Regions from separate parts of the Homo sapiens genome. Here regions 1 and 2 are each linked to region 3. Evidence: promoter capture Hi-C in 16 types of primary human blood cells and fetal thymus (Javierre and others, 2016). All regions are on one chromosome and are shown on one strand. Each heading gives the region's core, a stretch centred on a gene start or on the middle of the fragment in contact. The rest is flanking DNA. Distances are from core to core; before and after follow the strand shown. Region 1 overlaps TSPAN14 (tetraspanin 14). Region 2 overlaps TSPAN14 (tetraspanin 14). Region 3 holds the start of PRXL2A (peroxiredoxin like 2A).

Region 1 (3,988 bases), core at 895-3,394, 87 kb after region 3:
ATGAGAATGGAATGGGCTTCATGAGGTTCTTATCACAAGGATGTTAGGGAAAATATGCTTCCATGCAACATGGCTTTTTGAGAGCGCTAGTGTTTTTTACTTACTGAAAAAATCATTCTTTGGTTGTGCTAGACCTGTTTTTAGTGCAAAAATCTCACTTTGACTTAGGAAATGCAAATCAAAACCACAATGAGATACCACTTCACACCCATTGGGATGGCTATTATTTTAAAAAATGGAAAATAACCGATGTTGATGAGGATGTGGAGAAATTGAAACCTTTGTGCACTGTTAGTGAAAATGTAAAATGGTGCAATTGCTATGGTAAACAGTATGGTAGTTCCACAAAAGTTAAAAATAGAATTACCGTATGATCCAACAATTCCACTTCTGGGTATAACCAATAGAGCTGAAAGCAGGATCTCGAAGAGATATTTGTACACCTATGTGCACATTCATAGCAGCATTATTTACAGTTGCCAAAAGGTAGAAACAACCAAAGTGTCCATAGATGATTGAGTGGATAACCAAATGTGATATACAGATGTGAAAGAGCTTAAAAAGGAAGGCAGTTCTGTCACATGCTACAGCATGGGTAAACCTTGAGTACATAGTGCTGAGTGAGATAAGCTAGATGCAAAAAGACAAACACTGTATAATTCCACTTATATGAGGTGCCCACAGTAGTCAGAATCATAGAGACAGGAAGTAGAATGTTGGTTGCTAGGAGCCCGGGAAGGGAAGATTGGGGAGTTGTTGGTTAGTGGGTACAGAAGATCTCACTTTGATGTGCAGAGGAAGGGAAGCTGGGAGAGGCGTACACTGGAGGAGTGGCATCTGGCTCTTTGTCTTTGTTCATTTATACCCCCCACTGGTTCCACAAAGCACTTGGACTTTTCTAAGTTTGCCGAGTGAATCCTCTAGAGGGATGATTCCGATAATGTCTGCAACTCCAGGGTTGGTTTCCAACACAAGCATTGGCTTTAATCTGCATGCAGAGGTTGGATGAAGTCCTTGCCTGGATCTGCTTCAGAGATGGATTAAAAGTGAAGAACTGAGACCCTTTCTAAATAGACTGTAGGCCTGTGTTACACAGGAAAGTCCTTTGCTTGCCTTTAGTTTAAAAAAATTTTTTTTAAATGACATTCTGCCATTGGCTTTCTCAGTGACTTGGGTCTGTTTGAGCCTACCCTTGTAAAATGTGTGAATTCACCTCTGCGCAGCCTGTTTCTGAGTGAGATGAGAGCCATGGACATCTGTGCTCTGTGACCAGCATGGCTTAAGGCCTATTCCTTCAAAGTCACAGATGCCTCCTGTGAGTAGGGCGAACATGTAATCTGTGGTTCAACTTTTGACAGTAAGAGAATTTTGAGAGAGTCTTGCGAATTTTGCCAGAACAACAGGTGTACCCCAGGCCTCTCCTGTGCAAACCTGGGCATGTGGCCACCCTGCACAAGAAAGGGAAGACAAGCCCAAGGTGGAAAGATCAACTCTCTTCCCTTACCTCTGTGTAGGGCATCTTTGCAGGTGGGGTCTTATTCTCTTCCTCTGACTTTTATTATGCTCCTCTTTATAGAGGACTTGCCACCTCCCAGGATAGTCTGCTGTTCCTGGGCTCTTCTGACTGATGGAAAATTGCCCTTATTTGAGCTGAACTCTGCTCCTTTGATATCAGACCCCAAGGCCTGATCCCTAGATCTTCAGACAAATGATTTCTTCATTTCCATCTCAGTAATGCAGTCAAAAGGGAAAAGTCTAGTGTTTTAATAATGTATATAGTGTATTTTTGTTTTCACTGCTGGGAAGATGTCCCTTTTTCTCTTCAGGTAGTATTTAATCAACTTTTGTAATTTCGTGGAAATTCATAAAGGCTAAACAAGGCATCCCAGGTTTACTGCATTTCCTCTTCCATGCCCCAGCGTCCTGTCTGCAGGCACACAGTTTCATATCCTGTGAGTAGTATCCTTGCAGTCTTAAGATACGCATTTTCACATCAGCATCTGCTAATATAGAACATCTACTAATATAGAACATTCCAGGTTGCAACATTATCTTTCCAATTGTATTTTTAGAAATTCCCATATTGGACATTTAGGTTGTTTCCAATTTTTTTGCTATCCTAGATAAGGATGCAGTGATTAGTTTATGTAATACGCATTCTTCCCTTTAGGGAAGGGAGGGAAATTATTTGCTGAGATAGATTCCCAGGAGAGATTAATTGGGTCACAAGGTGTGTACATTGTTTTGACCTGCCTGAACATACAGTCAAAATCACATCCCCAGAACGACTGCCCCAATTCATAGGAAGTTGACTGTCTTTTGGCACTGTGTGTGTGTGTGTGTGTGTGTGTGTGTGTGTGTGTGTGTGTATGTACATGTGTGTATTTCATCATTTAGGCTTGCCAAGGCAGAGGGCAGGGATTGCTTAATCAGAAACTCCACTAGAACTTAAGGAGTGGCCTGTGGTGCTGATGCCTGCATGGCCTCAGCCCCTGATTTCCCCAACTTAGGCAAGTGTGAGGCTGGGACCACCAGTTGGGATTACTGAGGAAGGGATGTTCAAGGTGCTCTGAGATTATTGCCTGGCACACAGGACTGTTAAATGCTTGCACGTACTTTCAAGTCTTAAGTAGTTTGGTGTGCTTGTATAACTCTGCCTCCTTGGCTGGTAAATAATCAGCATGGCATAGTCTACAGGAGTGATTTTTCTTGTTTGTACTTTTTTTCTTTAATGGAAATCCTTTTTATAATGATCACTTCTGTTGATGTCTGATTTAGATAGAATAACATTTATTCATTTCAACTGTACAGTTCAGTGACAGCTGTACATGCCACATAATCACCATCATCACAATGAAGATATAAAACATTCCCATCACCCCAGAAACTTTCCTTGTGCCCCTACAGTCATGCCTGCCCCACCCTACCCCTTCCCTGGGTGATGGTTGTTCTGCCTCCTGTTGCTATAAATTAAACTCTTTGGTATCTGACTTTTTTTTAGTTAGGTGGTAGTGTCTCTGTTGTTTTTCTGTTTTTAATTACTTTTTAAAAATCTTTTGAAATAATTTCTTATTTTTTAATTGTACAATATACGTAACAGAACATTTGTTATTAAAACCATTTAAGTGTATAGTTCATTGGCGTTAAGTACATTCACATTCACCTTGATTGGTGTTCTTATTTTTATTATTTTTTCCTTTCTACTTGGGATTATTTTGCTTTTTCTTAGCTACTTAAACTGGAAGATTAGATCACTGATTTTTAGATTTTTTTCCTAATATAAATATTTGAAGCTGTACATTTTCTGCATCCCACACATTTTGATATGTTTTCACTTGATTTGGTAAAAATAGTTCGCATATGCATACTCTATGAACTGTGTCTCCTCCCACCTCCAGGCTGACTTCAAGAGTTTCTCCTTTTATTCTGGATTATAGCAATTTTATACATGCTGGTATAGTTGTCTTTGTGTTTATTCTGTTTGGGGTTCATTGGGCCTTTGAGATTTGTGGGTTTATAGTTTTCATCAGATTTGGAATATTTTAGCCATTATGTTTTCAAACGCACACCCTTTTTCTCCCCTTCCCTGTCCCATTTCCCTAGGACATTGTTTATCTAGGGCACAGAGGCTCGGTTTAGTTTTTTATTTTGTTGAGTGTTTTACCATTCTCCTTTAGTTTCCATAGCTTTGTCTTCAGCTTTACTGATCTTTTCTTCCATACTGTCTCATTGGCTGTTAAACCCATCTAGTGAAGTCTTCAATTCTAATATTGTAGTTTCTATTTCTAGTCGTTACATTTAGGTATTTTTTATGTCTCCAATTTCTTTCCTTATCTTATTTATATTTTCCTTTAAATTCCTGAACATATTTGCAATACTTGTTTTGAAGTTGTTGGGATTTCATCTTCTTTGTCATTCTTGTGTCTTCTATTTACTGAATTTTTTCTCTTATAGCTCACTTCTTTCCTTTTCTTGCCTATCTAGTAAC
Region 2 (3,730 bases), core at 448-2,947, 110 kb after region 3:
ATTATTTTCTTTCTTTTTCTCTTTCTTTTATTTTTGAGACAGGGTCTTGCTGTGTCGCCCAGGCTGGAGTGTAGTGGCATGATCTTGGCTCACTGGAACCTCTGTCTCCTGGGTTCAAGCGATTCTCCTGCCTCAGCCTCCTGAGTAGCTGGGATTACAGGTGCACGCCACCACACCCGGCTAATTATTTTCTGTTTGTTGTTGTTGTTGTTGTTGTTGTTGTTTGGTTTTATTTTAGAGACAGTGTCTCACTCTGTCACTCAGGCTGGAGTGCAGTGGTGCGATCTCAGCTCACTGTACAACCATTGCTTCCCCGGGCTCAAGCAATTCTCCAGCCTCAACCTCCCAAGTAGCTGGGACCACAGGCTTGAGCACCACACCTGGCTAATTTTTGTATTTTTTGTAGAGATGGGGTTTCACCATGTTGCCCCGGCTGGTCTTAAACTCCTGGGCTCAAAGCGATCTGCCCATCTTAGCCTCCCAAAGTGCTGGGATTACAGGTGTGGGCCGCTGTGCCTGTCCTGTCCTTTCTTTACCTATTGGCATTCCCAATCCAAGGCCAACGTCCTTGGGTTCCAGAAGCTGGGTTCTTGGGGTGAACTGTGAAGGAGCTCTGAATTTTGCCTGAACTGAGCCTGAGTAGAACTGGGCCAGTTGCCAGCTCTCGGTGCAGTTATGCAAAGCCTGGTCCTGGGTTACAGGCTTTGAGAAGGCAGAGCATCACCACTATTATATGGGCAAGTTCTGCAGCCCAGGAGAGGCTCAGATTTGCTGAAGCTGCACAGCTCTTCTGAGGTCTCCACTGCGACTGTGAAATGTACCAGTCTTGTAAGTGTTGCTTTTAGCACATATAGTTCTTACCTCCAAGTATAGGTCTTACCTCCTAGCAAACTGTGGCCCCCAGGCCAAATCTGGCTTGCTATTTTTCCATGACCTGTGAGTTAAGAATGCATTCAGATGTTTTTAAATGGTTGGAAATAAATCAAAAGAAGAATAATATTTTGTGGTACGTGAAAATTATATGAAATTCAAATTTCAGTGTCCATAAAGTTTTCTTGAAATACAGCCATTCCTGTTTGTTTACAGATTGTCAGTGCCGGCTCTCATGCAACAAAAGCGGAATTGAGTCTGTGTCTGAAGTACTCACTCTCTAGCCCTTCACAGAGAAAGTTTGCCACCCTGTCCTGGTCTGAAGGATTAGTTGGTGGCATGATTGAAGGACATGAGCTGTAATGGAATTTGCACAAATGTTTGCTAGTGTTTGGTTGTGACTTTACTAGAGCCTCTTAGCACCAGCTTCTTGAGACGCCAGAAGCAACTAATTTTTCTGCTTTTCTTGCAGCAAAAAGTTGTGAACACACAGTGTGGATATGATGTCAGGATTCAGGTGAGAACTCCCATGTATACAACTTGAAGAGTTCTTTAGGTTTTATTCCCTGTGGTTCAACATTCTGATTTAGCACGAGTGCAAATTGAAGTGGGAAAACTCAGGGCAGTGAAGCTCTTGATGCCACCTAAGCTGAGCATAGGCACAGGGTCACATACACTGCTTCCTGAGCTGGCGGCAGGACTCCTGGGAGCAGTAATGGTGATTCTAAGCCTTGTGAGCTGCAGTCCCAACATCTAGGAGTTGCTGCATTTAAAGAGGTGGGATGGAAGTTTTGAGGGACAAAGACTGCATTTTTAGGAGGCTCCTTGGCATCCCAGAAGACGTCTCTCGTTAAGGGGACAGCTGCAGGAGTGTAGGTGCCTTGTTCTGGCCTCCGTGTGGAGGCAGTAGTGACAAAGAGGGAGGCAGGCCTGGGGCAGGGGCGAGGCTCTGTCCTCCAGGACTTCCTTTAGGCTGTAGGGAGTGTGCTCTTAGATGCAAAGAGAAGGAAGACCCCACCCCACTCCAGTCCTTGTTCTAGTGGTCTTTGGTGATATGAATGACTGCTGTTCTAAAAGGGAGGAGTCTCGAGGAATCTTCAGAGACCCCACCTGTTAGCCGTGGATATGAGGGATGTGTCCCTACAGCTTGGGGAACTGTCCTCCTTTAGGGACCTGCATTTCACAGGGAGAAAGTGCTGTAAACTGAATGTGTGTGTCTCTCCAAAATTCACATGTTGGAACTTAAACTCCAATGTGATGGTATTTAAGAGGTGGGGTCTTGGGGAGGGGATTGGGTCATGAGGGCAGAGTCCTTATGAGTGGGATGAGTGTCCTTATGTAAGAGGCCCAGAGAGCTTATTTGTCACTCCACTGTGTGAAGACACAGTGAGAGGGTGCCATCCATGAACCAGAAAGTGGGCCCTCATCCGACACTGAATTTGCCAGTGTCCTGATCTTGAACTTCCCGGCCTCCAGGACTGTGAGAAATAAATTTCTGTTGTTTATAAGCCACCTAATCTATAGTATTTTATTCTAGTTGCCTGAATGGACTAAGATAAGAACCTATATCAACATCAGCTTCCCTAATTATGATTTTTTTTGCCACTTATATTAATTTGCTAAGGCTGCTGTCACAACATACCACAGACAGAAATTTAAGCCACAGCAGGCATTTATTTTCTCACAGTTTGGAGGCTAGAAGTCCAAGATCAAGGTGCTGGCGAGGTGAGGTGGGTGCCTTCAGAGGGCTGTGATGGAAGGGTCTGTTCCAGGCCTCTCTCCTGGCTGCAGGTGGCTGTCCTCTCCCTGTGTCCTCACGTGGGCTCCCCTCTGTGCATGTCTGTGTCCTGATCTCCTCCTCTTAGCAGGATGCTCTTCATATTGGATTAGGGGGCACCCTGATGGCCTCATTTTAGCATAATTACCTCTGTAAAGAGCCTGTCTACAAATACAGTCACCTTCTGAAGTCCTGGGGGTTAGGACTTCAGTGTATGGATTTTGAGGACACAATTTAGCTCCTAACACCTCTAAAATTAGGGGCTAATACTCCATCATGTTGCCATGGAGGAGGCTGATAGGTGTGAGGGGGCTGGGGCCGATTGCCCTGTGTGGGGTGGGCAGGGCTGGGGTGTGTGCTGGGATGGTTACTGACACCCCACCGGGGTTAGCAGTGGAGGGAGCTGGTTGGCTGGCGACTGTTGCCTGCTGGCTCTGTCTCCTGGAGCTGAGCTTACTGGTGGGATGCCCGCTCCGAGAAGCACCCTTCTTCTCTTCTTAGGAGACTCTGGACCCCCTTCTCCAGGTTTCTCTCCCTTTAGAGGCACATTTTCCTCCAAGCCTTCAAGCCCCTTCTCTTTCTCCAGATGTGGATGGTGGGGAAGGGTATCTTGAGAAAGTTGGGCTTTAAATCTCTGGAGACCTGAAAGGAAACAGCCAGGGAGCCTTTGGTCAGACAGGTGGTGCGATGGCACAGTGCCCAGCGAGGGGCAGAGGCTGAGAGGAGCTGACGAGCATCTCCTGGAGAGTCCTCCTTGCCTGCCTCCTGGATCCCTCGTTCCCACCCTGCTTTGCCCTGCTCCTTACCAGAGCTCACTAGGGGATCAGGTGGGGACATCGTGTGTGCCAAAGGCTCAGACCCCTGTGGTGTTTTCCTGCAGCTGAAGAGCAAGTGGGATGAGTCCATCTTCACGAAAGGCTGCATCCAGGCGCTGGAAAGCTGGCTCCCGCGGAACATTTACATTGTGGCTGGCGTCTTCATCGCCATCTCGCTGTTGCAGGTGTGTCCCAGGAGCCTATAGGATTGGCAGGTGGCCTTTTTTCATTTGAGATTGGGCCCTTAACATAGAGTGCATGGGTCCAG
Region 3 (3,608 bases), core at 952-3,451:
AGATCTTCAGGATGTTACCGAAGTGTAAATATAAGCATGACTTTTGCACGTGATTAGTAATTACATCACAGTTAAAGCCTCAGGGGACCTTCCACCCCAGAATTCTGCTATCCTCAACCCCTGAATGGCTCTGTCATTAATGGTCAGTCTCCAAGAACTCATTTCCCAAGGAAATGACTTCCTGTTTTGTTCTAAGTGGCCTTCCCTGCAAACCCTCCTCACCTTTGAACTTCCTATTTTGGGATGGAAAGATTGACCCTTCTCCCGCTCCTCTTCACAAGGTAAGGAGAAACAAGGGAGAAGAAAGAAAGGTCCTCTGGAGAGAGATATATGTATCATACATATCTTATACATATATCATATATATCTTATATATCTCATATATATCTTATATATATCTTATATATCATATATATATATATATATATATATATATATATAAAACTACACCCGCATTGCACCAAAGTATACGAAATATTTTCTGGCCTTCAAATCATATGCCTAACTCCTGCAGGAAAACTGCATGGGCACTCAGGCTGATCTCCCTTACCCCACAACTTAGATCCACCTCTCACGTTTTCTAAGTTTATTTCCACGCTGTCCCTGGGCCAGGCTCTAGGGTCCCAGAGGTGAAGTGGAGGAATTCACAGTTTGGTTGAGGAGAGACCCCCTTGAATAGATCAAGCTCCCCAAGTGTTGCTGTAAGTTTACATGGAACATGGAGTCTGAGTGGGAAGTCAGGGAGGTGAATCACGGAAGCCTTTGGACTTTGTACACCTGTGGGCAGCTCCCAGATGAAGGGGGGAAGGTGTTGCAGGCAAATGACCACCTTTGACGGGCGGACATCGGCCTGCTTTGCCACTTCACCTTATGCTGCCCTGTGACTGGTCTTTGCACTGTGTCACCGATATGTCTTTTTTTTTTTTTTTTGAGACGGAATCTCACTCTGTCACCCAGGCTGGAGTGTAGTGGCACCATCTCGGCTCACTGCAACCTCCACCTCCGGGGTTCAAGCTATTCTCCTGCCTCAGCCTCTTGAGTAGCTGGGACTACGGGTGCGCGCCACCACACCCGGCTAATTTTTGTATTTTTAGTAGAGACGAGGTTTTGCCATGTTGGTCAGGCTGGTCTCGAACTCCTGCCCTCAAGTGATCTGCCCGCCTTGGCTTCCCAAAGTGTTGGGATTACAGGCATGAGACACCGAGCCCGGCCAACCACTAATATGTATCGTGAGTCAGCTCTGCTGTCTCTGAAAGTCCAACCTCCTACTTTTTGTTTTTTGTTGTTAAGACAGGGTCTTTTTTTTGTTTTTTAAAGACAGGCTGGAGTGCAGTGGCGCGATCTGGGCTCACTGCAACCTCCGCCTCCCGGGTTCAAGCGATCCTCCCACCTCAGCTCCAGAGTAGCTGGAAATACAGGCACGCGCCACTATGCCTGGCTAGTTTTTGTTTTTTACGTAGAGATGGAGTCTTACTATGGTGCCCAGACTGGTCTTGAACTCCTGGGCTCAAGCGATCCTCCCAAAGCCCTGAGATTACAGGCGTGAGCCAGCGCGCCGGACACAACCTCCTACTTTCATGAAAGAGTGGGCACTTCCAACAGGAGGAGTAAGTGGATGAGCGGTGTGTGACACACCCGCCTCAGCGTCGCCCGGAGTCCGCAAGGCTGCGGCTCACCGTTCTCTGCCCCATAGCTGGCATTGTGGAGTGAAAGGGAACGTGGGTGGAGGATTGAGGTTGGAAATTCTGAATCTGTACATACAGCTTGAAGGGGCTCATCGAATGTGTCGGTCCTTTAGATTCCCCCTGCCCATGGAGGTTAAAAAAAAAAAAAAAACCTATCAAAAGAGCTATTCAAAACCAGGCTGAAGATTGGAAGGAAGTTGGCCAGCCTCGGCTGCAGGACAGGTGCTTCCAGGCTCCATTAGGGGTGTCCAGCGCCTTCTTTTGCCCTAGGCAGCGCCCTGAAGAACGCGTCGGGGCCTCGGTTCGCGGACTTGAGGAGTGGACCGACCGAGCGCTGTGCGTAAAAGGACCGCTGGGGCACACGCCCGAGCGCCACCGGAGCTAGGAGACCGCGGCCCGGAGGTCGGCGAGTCGGGGGCAGGCCCGGAGCTCCTCCCACGGGGGGCGGGGCGGGTCACATGGCGGTGGCGCGGTAGCGCGCGATGCAGCACAGGCTAGAGGCTGCGCAAGCGCGGGGCCCGCCCCTGGGACCCTCCGGGCCGGGCGGTTTGGCCCCTTAGCGCCCGGGCGTCGGGGCGGTAAAAGGCCGGCAGAAGGGAGGCACTTGAGGTAGGTGCTGCGCGCCGGGGCTCCGCGAGGCACGTGATGTCCGTAGGCGGGGCCTGCCGCGGCGTAGGTGGGGAAACTGAGGCAGTGCAGGGCCGGTAGGGTGGGTGCTGGGCTGGTGAGGCGCGCCCCTCGGGCCCGCGCCAACTTTCTTAGGAGCCGCCGCAGCGCTGGCGCTCCCTCCGAGGACGACGACCCTTCCGCCACCCTGCGTGGCGGCCGATGGAAAAACCCTGCGCCCAGACGTCGGAGAACGGAGACGGGGACCCGGCGCTGCTGCGGCGGGCTAGGGCCCCCTCTGTCCACGCCCGCAAGCCTTGAGTGACGCCGGTGGCGCCAACCTTCGCGAATTGTTGGGACAAAGAACAGAGGAGAGGGCCCTGCCCTGGAGCATGGGCCCGGGGGCCGCCCTGCTGGACCAGCCCCAGGTGCGGACCTGGCAGTCCTCGTCCTCGTCTCTGTGCCCGCTTAGGGTCGTGTCTTTTAAGAGGGCACGGTTTCTAGCGTTGTTCAGCGTTTCGGAGGCACCTGTTCCCCCTCTTTCCCAAGAGTCACAAACGCCTGACTTTAAATTGGGTAGAGCCCAGTTGTAAACTTAACAGCCCTGCTGAGGTCTAGGAATGAAAAGATGAACAATCTGCCCCCAGGGTTGTTGCTGGAGCGGGAGGTGAAGGCGCAGGTGGAGATGGTTAGAGGCAAAGGAAGGGAAGTCAAGGCCCAGCCGGTCCAGGGCTGTGGGAAGGAGGCACACCCGGGAGTCCACTGCCGGACCGGGGTTCCCAGCTGCTCCTGCGCCTCTTTTCCTTGCCACATCATGCTGTCTGCACAGCCCAGCAACCCAGAACTCAGCTTTTTTGTTTGTTTTATTTTAATGTATTTTCCTTTGAACCTGGCAGGTGGTTTTTCAAAAAGAAAATAATCAAGATTTGTTTTGAAAAGCATTGTGAAAAAGTCAGCTTGAATAGTCTTGAATGCTCCTGCTCGGGCCCAGCTTTGGAGAATGAGGATTGGGATTTCCACTGCAGACCCCGACTCGTTACCATACTCATTCATCAGAAAACTCTTCATTTTGTGTACAAATAACGTTTTGAGGGTAATCATTGCTCTAGAAATGAAGAATTATACATCGTATTTATTGCACTTTTTGTAAGGTACCTCACAAGGCACCTCCTATACATTTAATCCTTTGATTCTTGCAACTCTGTAGAAGGTAATTAAGGAAGCATTCCCATTTTACTGATGCAAAACAGTTCCTTGTCCAGGTTTATACAGCTTGCAAGAATTAAAGTTAGATATTATTCTTGGTGTGGGCCTTTC

The links. Contacts are between HindIII fragments. The CHiCAGO score rates a contact against its expected background, and 5 or more counts as called.
Region 1: a fragment that was not itself captured here is called in contact with the fragment with the promoter of PRXL2A in region 3 in 4 of 17 cell types (M0 macrophages, M1 macrophages, fetal thymus and 1 more); the score reaches 5.9 in M0 macrophages.
Region 2: a contact is called between a fragment that was not itself captured here and the fragment with the promoter of PRXL2A in region 3, in 13 of 17 cell types (M2 macrophages, monocytes, naive CD8 T cells and 10 more). The highest score is 8.2, in M2 macrophages.

Annotation. Positions count from the first base shown.
Region 1 is chr10:80,493,010-80,496,997 of GRCh38, forward strand. All of the region lies in intron 2 of TSPAN14 (tetraspanin 14), which reads left to right. Among named protein-coding and RNA genes, the nearest start is that of TSPAN14, 41 kb to the left of the region's middle. The HindIII fragment of the contact is 8,190 bases long and covers 1-3,988 here.
Region 2 is chr10:80,512,677-80,516,406 of GRCh38, forward strand. TSPAN14 (tetraspanin 14) reads left to right here. Exons shown (of 9, transcript NM_030927.4): 7 at 1,343-1,387; 8 at 3,528-3,647. Among named protein-coding and RNA genes, the nearest start is that of TSPAN14-AS1, 21 kb to the right of the region's middle. The HindIII fragment of the contact is 4,105 bases long and covers 1-3,730 here.
Region 3 is chr10:80,406,350-80,409,957 of GRCh38, forward strand. PRXL2A (peroxiredoxin like 2A) reads left to right here and starts at 2,202. Exons shown (of 6, transcript NM_032333.5): 1 at 2,202-2,294. RefSeq lists a silencer at 1,981-2,270 and an enhancer at 2,556-3,149. The HindIII fragment of the contact is 7,614 bases long and covers 1-3,608 here.